Linked DNA regions of Homo sapiens: region 2 is linked to region 1. Evidence: promoter capture Hi-C in 16 types of primary human blood cells and fetal thymus (Javierre and others, 2016). All regions are on one chromosome and are shown on one strand. Each heading gives the region's core, a stretch centred on a gene start or on the middle of the fragment in contact. The rest is flanking DNA. Distances are from core to core; before and after follow the strand shown.

Region 1 (5,543 bases), core at 2,998-5,497:
TGTAAATGTAAATTATGTGGGTTACCTTTCGAGGATGAAGCCTGAATTGCAACATATGAATATGAACTTTGAGTTATGATAATAAAACAGACTTTCTCTAAAAGTAATTAATCGACATTAATGTTATACTTAACTTCTAAAGACAATTTAAGGGGACAAGAGTAAGACTGCTTTAAAAATAAGTGTATGGCAGTAGGGATGAAGGTTGGGATGTGAAGACAGGAAATCTGTGATTTAGTAGCCATTACTGGTACCTGACAATAATTATGTATGACCTTGATTTAGTCTATAGATAAGAATTATTTTTAAAGCTAAAAAAATGGAAAAGCCAATCATGTATGTTTATTTATTTTTACCATTTGACTCTATCAGAAACATCCAAATTGCAAGTAGCTAACTAGTGGGGAGGGGGACCTGACAGTACAAGGATTTCTTAACGGTTCTCGACAAAGTGGTATAGAAAGTAATTTTATGCCACTTTTAGCAAAACGAGCTCTGACTCACTTACTTTGAAGATACAGAATAATAATCCCACAAAACTCTTCAACCTAGGACATTAAAATATTGTTTCTTTTGAAATCAAAACATTTGGTGTGTAAGCTTGCATTTGGTTGAGAAATACGGTGCTTGTCTTCTATAAAAGGATTTTGCTTCCATTTTATTGCATGTAATGATTTTGGTTTGCTGTCCTGAAAATTAAAAGCCCCATTTAAACTTCATGTTAATTTAAGAAAGACAAAATATAGCTTAACATACATTTGAACAGTCAAGGAATAGGCACTGATAATTATTTGGAATAAGGATTTTTACAAGTTAGTAGTAATAAGACTAGATTTGTCTTACTAATGAACATTTTTCCAATAGTGTCTTGCATATATTTAATGAAAGTTTCCTGCCACTAGAAAAGTATATAGTAGGTGTAATTTAAAGTGCAGAAACAAAAGCAAGATAAAAGAAAAAAGAATACATTTCAAATATATTTCTAGCTTCAGTGAAAATAACGTTGTTTTCCAAGCTTTATCTATAATTATTATATAATGTTTACTTTATACTAGTTAACTGTTATATAAATATCAAGATAATACTTCTTCGTATTCTAACATGTCTTAATAAATCAGCTAATAATATAAGGAGTGTCTATTCACTTCTCTATTTGAGCTTTCTACTGCTGAAAAAATAGTTGTTTATTATTACCTAATATTACTGCTTTTTATTTAGAAAAATCAAACCAAAATAACTTTGGGACTTACTTAGAGATCAAGAGGTGCTTGTTGATGCTCACTTAGTATGAATGCAGCTTATTTTCTGTGACAGAATAAATGTTTTATTTCTACTTTTCCATTTTGTTCTACCCTTGCATAGGAAAAACAATTTTACATTAACATGTACCACTTCCCCTCAAATGTTAGCATCCATTACTTTAAAATTCAGGCATTTTAGTAAAGCTAACACATCTTGCTTGTTACTCCTCTCTTCATATACTTTCCCAGGGATGGCTTTTCTCAGTAAAATGAACTTCCTTTGTCTATCTTTGACTAAAAGCAAACCTTTAAAATTTTAATGAGAGATGTTTCCAGTATAATGAATTAGACCAAAAACTCACTCTCTCCTTCTTCTTTCTCCTTTTGACCTCCCCAAACTTTCAAATTGAAGAGATTATAATCAAAATCAATACTAAGCTTTTGAAATTGGGTCTCAAAGTTGAAATTCAAAGTAACAAAACTAATCTTCATGTCTGGCTTCTAGACCAGTTTCGTTAGACACAGCTCACATTCTGCCACCTCCATTCGCAAGTAAAATCTATATTACAATTAGTATAATAAAGCTACTTTTGCAAATATTGTTCGTAGATATAGATATGCATAAATAGGAATTTAGCTGCAAGTAGAAGTCAGAAGCTCTGATAAACTGTTTCTTAGTTTTGCTGAAGGCTTTGGGCCATGACTTTTTGTCATAAATGTTAGAACTCAATTGTAAACATTGCGTGAAATGGAGTAGCCTTGATACCCATCTAGATTATACTCTGCATTATCTTCATACAGACAAAAGGAATTCTTGATTAGCTAGTGCTGCCTGAGAGGCAGTATGGTTTAAGAGTTTGGATTCTGAACACACACTACTTGGTCTCAAATTCTAGCTCTTACAAGCTTTGTGACTGGGGACGTTATTTAACCTTTTTGTGCCTCAGTTTCCTTATCTGAAAAATAAAGATGATGATATTATCTACTGACTGTTGAGAGGAGTAAATCAGTAGGTGTAAAGGACAAGAGAAGTGCCTGGAATGTATCAAGTTCATTTTAAGGGTGTGCTGTTACTGTTACCTAATTTCAAATTTGCTACTTCTTGATGTCTTTTAAAATATCCCATGAGGAAGAAATGGGAAACATGCCTTAGTATCCTATTCCAGTATTTTGCAGTTTTTATTTTCAGTGAAGTATTTTTAATTATTCTATCTAGGAGATAATTGCATTCTCATCATGCTTTGGGCCTTTGAGAAGAGACACTGTCATGAGCATAAGCTATTTTCGTACCTGAAGGCAGCCTGATACGGTGGAAAGATCCTGCATACTAGAGCTAAAAACCTGAGTTCAAATCTTAGCTCTACCGTCTCCTGCACTGGAACTTATGCAGGCTTTTCAGCCCCCCTGAACTTCAGTTTCCTTGTCTATAAAATGGTTATAGTGATTTGTATTAATTAGAGTTGTTTTAAGGATTAGCTAAATGTACATCATCTAGCACGTAGCAAGCTCTCAATAAGTATTAGTTTTATAGTAGTAAATATAAAGGTGATAAAATGATTTTATAATGATAGGTTTAGTTATTGATAAGGTATAACCATAATAGGGATTACTGTGCAAATTACTACTGAAAAGTAATAACCACCAATTCATTATTTATCATTATATAAATAATTAGACTACTCTTCAGATCATTGTTGCTCTTGAAAGATAAGTCAAACTTGAGTTTGCTTTTTTGCTAAGAAAAGTAATCCAAGTTTCTTTACTTTCTGTTTCCAACATTTACATTTCTCCTCTGAATCTTCCAGCTGATCATGTCATTAATAAATAATGGATACTAAATTAACCCAGAGCTCACTGAAGGTCTGGTTAATTCTGTTCATGTGGAAAAGAGCATAATCATTACCGCATGGTTTTCTATCAATTAATTTCTTTTCTAACAGAATAACATTACTGACTTGTGTGATTGGTGGGTACCCTATGACTGACTGTTCTTTTTTGTCCTTTGGCTAGTCTTCAGCTTTCTTCTTTATAATTTTCTGCTTGCTTCTAAGTTATTTAACTGTATCATTCATTTCACTTATGACCAGGAAACACAAGAGGTGTTAAGTAGAAAATAGCTTAGTTTATTTCCTTGCTGCTATGATATATGTAGTAAAGCCTTGCCAACAAAGGGAAAATATGGTGTGACCAAATGGGTAAAACTTTATTCTCACGCCCCATCACCCTTGTTGCATCTAATAATGATAATAATGTGTACTAGGCCACTTTGTTACCAAGCAAAGATTTTGCCAAAATACACCATTACCACGTAGAAATAACATATTAAAATGAGTTTTCAAAAGGTGTACTTGCTGCTGTAGAAGTCATCTCTTTTTCTACGCTTATCTCTAAACATATTAAAAATTGTTATGCCATTAAAGTATGAAGCCCAACACCTTATAGCTCGTGAGTCTTTTTTAGAGCTTCATTGAGTGCTTCATTTTTCATTCATTGTGTGAATGAGCCCATGGTTTCTATACTTTTATATGTCTCCATTGTATTATTATGCAAACTTAAAAAATATCTTCCTGGGAAAAATAAAATATAAGCTAGTAAATTTCTTTGGTATAATTTTAATTAAATGTGCTGAAGACTGATGATGATTCCTTCTTTCCTATTGACTATATGAGAGTGTGTTTAGGTGAATTAAAAATACAAATATGTGTACTGCTGTTTCACTTTTTAAGGCTGACTGCCTTTAAAAGCTGGATTTGAGAGAACTAGCTTGGCCAGAGGATTTTAGATTAAATCCTCTAAATGCATGCCCGTTTAGAAGCTAAATTAACAAACTCTCTTCATCAACTTCTCAGGTTTTCTCTTGCATGCCCATGGTAGCTAGAAATATCACTAGTAGAACGGACAGAGTCTTTGACATAAATTTAGAAGTAAAACTCACATGTACTTATTCTTCTACGTAGTGTCTCTTCTTGCAGTCAAAACAGAGCCCTTGAACAGCAGTGAAACCACAGCCACGACTGGAGATGGAGCGCTTGACACTTTTACTGGGTCAGGTAAAGCCTTTAGCTCGTGTGTCCTTACGTACACATGGGGGTGCATCCACATCCTCCTCCTCGGGAATAAGCAACATAAGCATCCAAGCTCTTAGAACTTTGATCCTTATAAAGTTAGAAACAAATTCTTATTTTTTGAGAACTCATAGTCATAGCAGTATGCATTGTTATAAATTATATTTAGAATAATTTCGCTTGATATTTTAGTTGACAGCAAAAGTCCCATGACTTTCTTATTATGGATAAGTAAACTTAACTTCCTTCAAAATTATTTTATACGATGTTTAATTAATTTAATAATTAAGTTGTAGTAGCTGACCTTGCTTCTTCAACTTACCCATTTGAATTACATAAAAACTGCCTTCTGTTTAACATTCGAGATGTAAAACTATCCATTTGATTCCTTCTAAATAACCTTGTTTCCTCTCTGGGTTTAAAAAACTCCTCCTGTGTAAGCAGCTGAGTGACAAGTATTAAAGGTTAATGGGCTGCAGGAGAGCACATGCTGGTTGCATTAGAACCCAGCCTCTGAGAGCGCTCGAATGCTTCAAAGAGAACAATAGCATGTCTTTAAACATCAATCCCTTTAAAATATAAATACCTGATAACTCCCAGCTGGGCACAAAGGGCATGAATTAAGTAGACTTAATTAAATTTTTTTAAGTTACAATATTTCTTCGGCTTTTTATCTGGTGAAAGGATTTTTCTAACCTGAGGAGGATCGGGTACATCAGAAAGAAGAACATTAAACCTAGGAAAGTATTTGTGGTAATTGAATCTCGGTTCTGTTATTCTACTTTAATACATTTTACATTTATCCATGTGCTCATGTTATAAGGATTTTTTTGTCAGTATGTTTTGTGTAAAAATAGTTGAGATATGTCTTAGAGTATTATGTCATTATAGCATATATTTGATTTTTACAGATGATCTAATTTCACTAGTTCACACCGATTAGAAGCAGTTGCCATATATTTACATAAATATTAGTACTCCAAGAAAGAAATAATAGTACATAAACTTTGCACAGAGACTCATATGTACTAATCCACATCTTTTCTAGCAGTTTACCTGCCTCTCAGGAGATAGTTACCAGTTCAGTATTCTGTATTGCACACTTACCATAGCTTTTGTAAACTTTCTGCAAAATAAATCTATATGAACAAATTGTTAAGGAAAGGAATGGAGTTATTAACTTATTGCTGACCTACTTCAGTAGTATACTACAAGTTAATTGAAAGCTGAATGACAA
Region 2 (5,069 bases), core at 2,463-4,962, 270 kb before region 1:
ATTAAATTTTTTGTGTGTATGTGCGTATATTTTAAAATAGTATCACTTGAGGTTCTTTCTTCCGAGGAATCAGTGATAGAGCAAATACATAAGAAAAATAAACATATTTGGCAGCCAAGAAGCTTTTTTTCAATGAAAGTAGAATCTTTTGTTTTTGACTGGAAAAGTTTTTCTTTTTATGTCAAATGAAATTTTAAGATCACCTATGAGTTTGGAACCAAATCCTTTACTGCCAAATCTGATTCCAATCCTTAAAATCTGTTTTTGTAATACTGCCAGCCATGCACTAACTTTAAATAGGTAGCCAGACATATTGGCAAAAATATACATGGTTAATCAAATAAAACTATGTAGCAGTTTGGAAACAATCAATCAACTTTCAGAATCTTTTAAGTATGAAGCTGCTGTGAAGACATCATGGCTTGCAGTGAAATATTGCAATAAAACTCCATAAGCAGCTGCTTTTGAATTCATCTTCTCCTTTGGTTTTAAATTTTCATAGACCTGCCTCTTAACTATGAATTTTATAAGCTTTTGAAAGAAAAAAACCTGGCAACCTACTATTACAACTAACAAAGAAATGAGGAATGGTAATACAGTTGGAAGCTGAACTCACTGCAAGAACTGCCAACTTGAACTTATCTAGTTAACTATTACTGTACGGATTGCACTTGAAACGGCTTTTGATGGCTGACATTATTTTACTGAAAAGAATATGTGTGAAGGTACTTAAGCACTTTCTCTTGTGTTTTATAGCTTAAGTTTCTTTTCAAATAAAAGACAACATAATCTAAAAAATCCAGATATCCCAACATTAGCAGATTTCATTTCTGTTAGATGAGAAAACTATTACTATTCTTTAAATACACACCAATGACAAACCCACAAGACCTTCACTTACTTTTTTAATTTTATATTTTAAAAGAGGAACAAAAATTGCATTTCACAAATGAATTATTTATGAGATAATAATTCTAACCCTGCAGTTACATTAGAATGTTTTATTGCTTCTACTTGGTAGGCATTCTTCTTTATTGTAATCCTAAATGTAATTAATTTGTAATCTTAAGACTAGTGAACAATTTGGCTTCATCAAAACAAAATGTTTGCTATTATCAAATATTAAAATTCAATTAGAAAACACTGAAAAAACTATTCCCCCTCCTTTTCTGTGTCTGAGATCAATTTTGCTTATCTCAGTGGTGGCTAATAACGTTAGCTCCTAACAAATTGCATTTCTGTATAAGGTTTCTTTCTGTGTGTTCTTTGCGTGTTGGGGGTGGGGGTGGGTTTTCATTTTACTAAACAGTTTTTGTTTCTATTTTCTTTCTTTTTCTCATACATGAGCTAAAATCTCTCCAGATTTGGTCATAGATGAAAATCTAAGGATGATGTCTGAAGTGTAGATGGGTATTTGGAAAATATATGACTTACAGTGGTAAAATTTGTTTTTGAGCAATGTTCATAAAGTATCACAGTGTTAGAAATAATGCTGAATTCAGAACTAGAGGAAAAAAAACGTGTGGTGAAATAGCTGATAGATAGTTTAAATATAAGAATGTCTGCATATTGAGTACTCTTGTTTTCTTTAATAAAAGCATAACATGTAAGTTAAAGAGCAGGTTATCATAAATAAATCCAAGACAAAAGAAGAGAAATACCAAACCACTGGCTCACTCCCTGTTCCTCATGAGTGCCCTTGGCTGCCCCAACTCCTACATAATTTCTAAGGCCCAGCAGAGACTTCTCTGCCCAAATCTGAACCTATCCCTCTTTCCCCTCAACTTTGCCATGTCTTCCATATCCTGCCTAGGTCAGGTGACCTTCTTCTACACATTCTAATTCCCCTACCATACCTAATCATTGCACTTGCAAGTTTTATTTATGTGTTTACTGCATATCTCTTTGTTTCCAACTAAATTGTAATCTTCTTGAAGGTAGAATTGCCTTGTCATCTTTACATCCTCAGTGTTTCATATAATGCTTGTCTAAAAGTCAAGAAATGAAAGAATGCATATCTAAACCACAATTTCCACTACTAAAACCTAACTATTCATAAGCGCAGACTCAAACACAGTTATGGTCGGTTTGGCTAGTGAATAGTAACCATATGAAAAGATGAGGGCTGATGAAAGAATGATAACTTGGTTTTTCTAGGATCACACACTCAGGGTTCAGGGAGGAAGCAGTAAATGAGTCATGTAGCTTTGAAAAAAAGGATAGAAGCTGGATCTACAGAAAGCAGCCAATGCTCAGCTTCAGTCAGCTTTTTAGCATGAGGGGATACAAGTGGAGTGTTTGTTGCCAGAGCTGAAGACTTTTTAAGTAATTGCAAAATTTAGATTTTTTTAATGTAAAATTTTCTAGATCTTAAATTATAGCTTGACATTTCTAAAAACATCCTGTGAGCCAAGAAAATATGTGAACAAACTGTAGATGACATGTGGGGCTATCCATGACCTCTAAGTAGAGAGAAGATGACATAACCATCTTCCTTAGATTAAAACGGAAACAAGAATAATGAAAACCCTTTCTGTCAAATTGGAAAAATACATTTATATTCTTATTTACATTTGCGTACGTTTAATTTTACACTCAAACTTATATGCAAACTTATACTTTATAGTTATATTCTTATTTAAATGTATACTTATATGGCCAGACTTGGTAGGTTTCGGTTCAAAATGAAGAAACTGAAGGGCAGTTTAGACCTAGATGGCAACAAGAAGAGTACGATTGTAAAAATGCCGACCTTATTACTTGGGTTTCAATCCAAGTTTTTAGGCAGCTTATTTTTCTGACCTTTAAAACCACCTTTGAATTTCTGATAAACACAGAACTAAGCTGAAAAGAAAAGGTATTTACAACATCACCTTTGGATAACTTTAAAGCTGCTCAAGTATTTTTGCAGTGACAGATTGGGATGGAATGCTGGGAAAATAACAGCACTGGAAACAAAGCAGACGGGTTTTATCTCAACTTTTTATATCCAACTGAAGCACACTTCACCTGTGAATAGTGATTATTAAGTTTCTTTCAAGGGAAGGGGGCCTGTAATTCACAAATGCTGCAGGTGTGAACTCCTAGGAGGCTTTTCTCCAACTGAAAGGACGTTAATCATTATTCATGGGTGAGATAGTCCATTTATTCCACAGCAGAGAAAGAATTCCTTTTTTATCTTCTTAAAACATGAGACCTTCAATTTTATAAGCTTCACAACAATAAAAGATTCCCTCTTAGAATTACATTTATTGGAGGTTGTTCTTATATTGTGCTCGTTTTTTAAATACTTGAATTTCTTGGAGTTACTAAAATGTCAGTAAGAGTGTGTAGTTTAAATAGTAATTAATTACTTATTCAACAAAATTTCCATAGGCATCTGGTTATTCTAGACCAATATTATCAATGCCTATGAATAGGAAATAAATTTTATCAAAATGAAATCCAAAAGAGTGGTTGTATTGGATTTTGTTTGTGTCAAGTGTTGCTTCAAGTAAGCGAGTCACTGGCTGAGTTTAGAAATCTTTTGGCTGCATAGAGATAATATATTTGTTGTGAAAATCAACTGACAGTGTAGATTCACAAACATCATATTTCTTGACAAGCTGTTAGCGAATATTCTTATTTTATTCCTCACTCCATACATTTCACTAATTTTCTGTTCATTTTTTTGAATATTGAAAATTTATTAAGATATGTATATATTTTTACAAACATATGGCTAGTCTTTTTGCTTTCAAGCAATGGTGTGCACATGATATAAATTCTTGCAGTTCATATGTGCATCTGAATGATGGTGCAGGAAAATCAGATATTGTAAAAGTATAGAATCATTTTTAATTTGCCTTTAACACTTGTTATCATGCTAGATTCCAAAACAAACAAACAAACAAACAAACTTTACTACCTAACTAGATTATGTTCAGAGAATACGCTGTGTAAACAAAGAGATTATTTCTTTCCTACTGAGGTATGGGCTGTATGGAAAATATAATTGAGAAATTCGAGAAATTCAAGAAATTCAGCCATGTCAAGCAACAGATAGGTGGACAAAATTATAGCAGATATTGGAAGTTAAACTGTAAACATTAAATGAACAAATGTGACAACTAAATAGCTGCCTTATTCAATTTAGTCAGCTTATCTACTTATACAGCAAAACCGTAAGTTAAATTTATCCAACTTTCAGTAATGTTTCACTATAAAACCAAAATGAAGCTTCAATTATAAATTTGGGTAGAAAAGATAGTGAGGTTATGGCTTAGGTTCATCCTGAAAAAGACAAAATCTGCTCTGTGGTTCAAATCTATAGAAATTGTATCTTGGAGTAAGTCTCATATAAATAGAAAATCTATCTAGTTTTTATTTCTTTGGTTTTTCAATTTTATTTGGAAAATTTTCCCCAATATAGCTAATACACAAGTAAAAGTTAAGGCAAATTAGTGAGAAGATTATCAATTCTTTTCCATGGGCGGGGAGAATAGGAAATATAGCTGCACAAGTACAAATAGCATACATTTTTCGTTCATTGGAAAGACATGAATCTCAGCCTTTTCTACCACGTATTGGAGTGAAACATCAACTTACTGTCATGGGGGAGAATGGCTTCCTATATTCTATCAATCATCTGGGTGAAGAATTACAACATACTCCTATGGCTATGGCCAGTCATAAGGACCTAAATGTGGAGACAACTCATAAATAATAAACCATCCAATTATTTGACAAGGTCTTTCTATTTGCTAAGAAAACTTGCCCATCAAAATCTGTAGAGAATTGAACTATCTTCTCCAAAGGCAAAGACAAGTCAGACACTGCAGACCCTCATGTACCTCAGCTGTAAAATACATGCAATTGCAAGGTCCATCTCAGTTGACCTCTGACTCCTTAGCTTCAAGTGGCTTCTTGTTGTCATTACTGGATTGTGGTGGTTTCTTCCTTAGCTCTGTAGTACAGCTTCTTCACTCCACATGAAACATGTTTACTGCCTCTCTCCCACTTGCTGTCTTCACTGTGTGAACTGAGTCTATTTTTAGGTCCTGCCTATTCTTCTGTCTCAGTCTTGGTCC

What was found. The method cuts DNA at HindIII sites, captures the fragments that hold promoters and counts their contacts. A CHiCAGO score of 5 or more calls a contact.
Region 2: a contact is called between a fragment that was not itself captured here and the fragment with the promoter of EYA4-AS2 in region 1, in 1 of 17 cell types (erythroblasts). The highest score is 5.0, in erythroblasts.

The regions. Positions count from the first base shown.
Region 1 is chr6:133,452,358-133,457,900 of GRCh38, forward strand. It overlaps EYA4-AS2 (EYA4 antisense RNA 2), which reads right to left and starts at 4,248. Exons shown (of 3, transcript NR_199014.1): 1 at 4,177-4,248; 2 at 1,251-1,305; 3 at 328-689. EYA4 (EYA transcriptional coactivator and phosphatase 4) reads left to right here. Exons shown (of 20, transcript NM_004100.5): 6 at 4,199-4,291. The HindIII fragment of the contact is 6,300 bases long and covers 2,146-5,543 here.
Region 2 is chr6:133,186,104-133,191,172 of GRCh38, forward strand. No RefSeq gene overlaps it. Among named protein-coding and RNA genes, the nearest start is that of EYA4, 53 kb to the right of the region's middle. The HindIII fragment of the contact is 1,007 bases long and covers 3,210-4,216 here.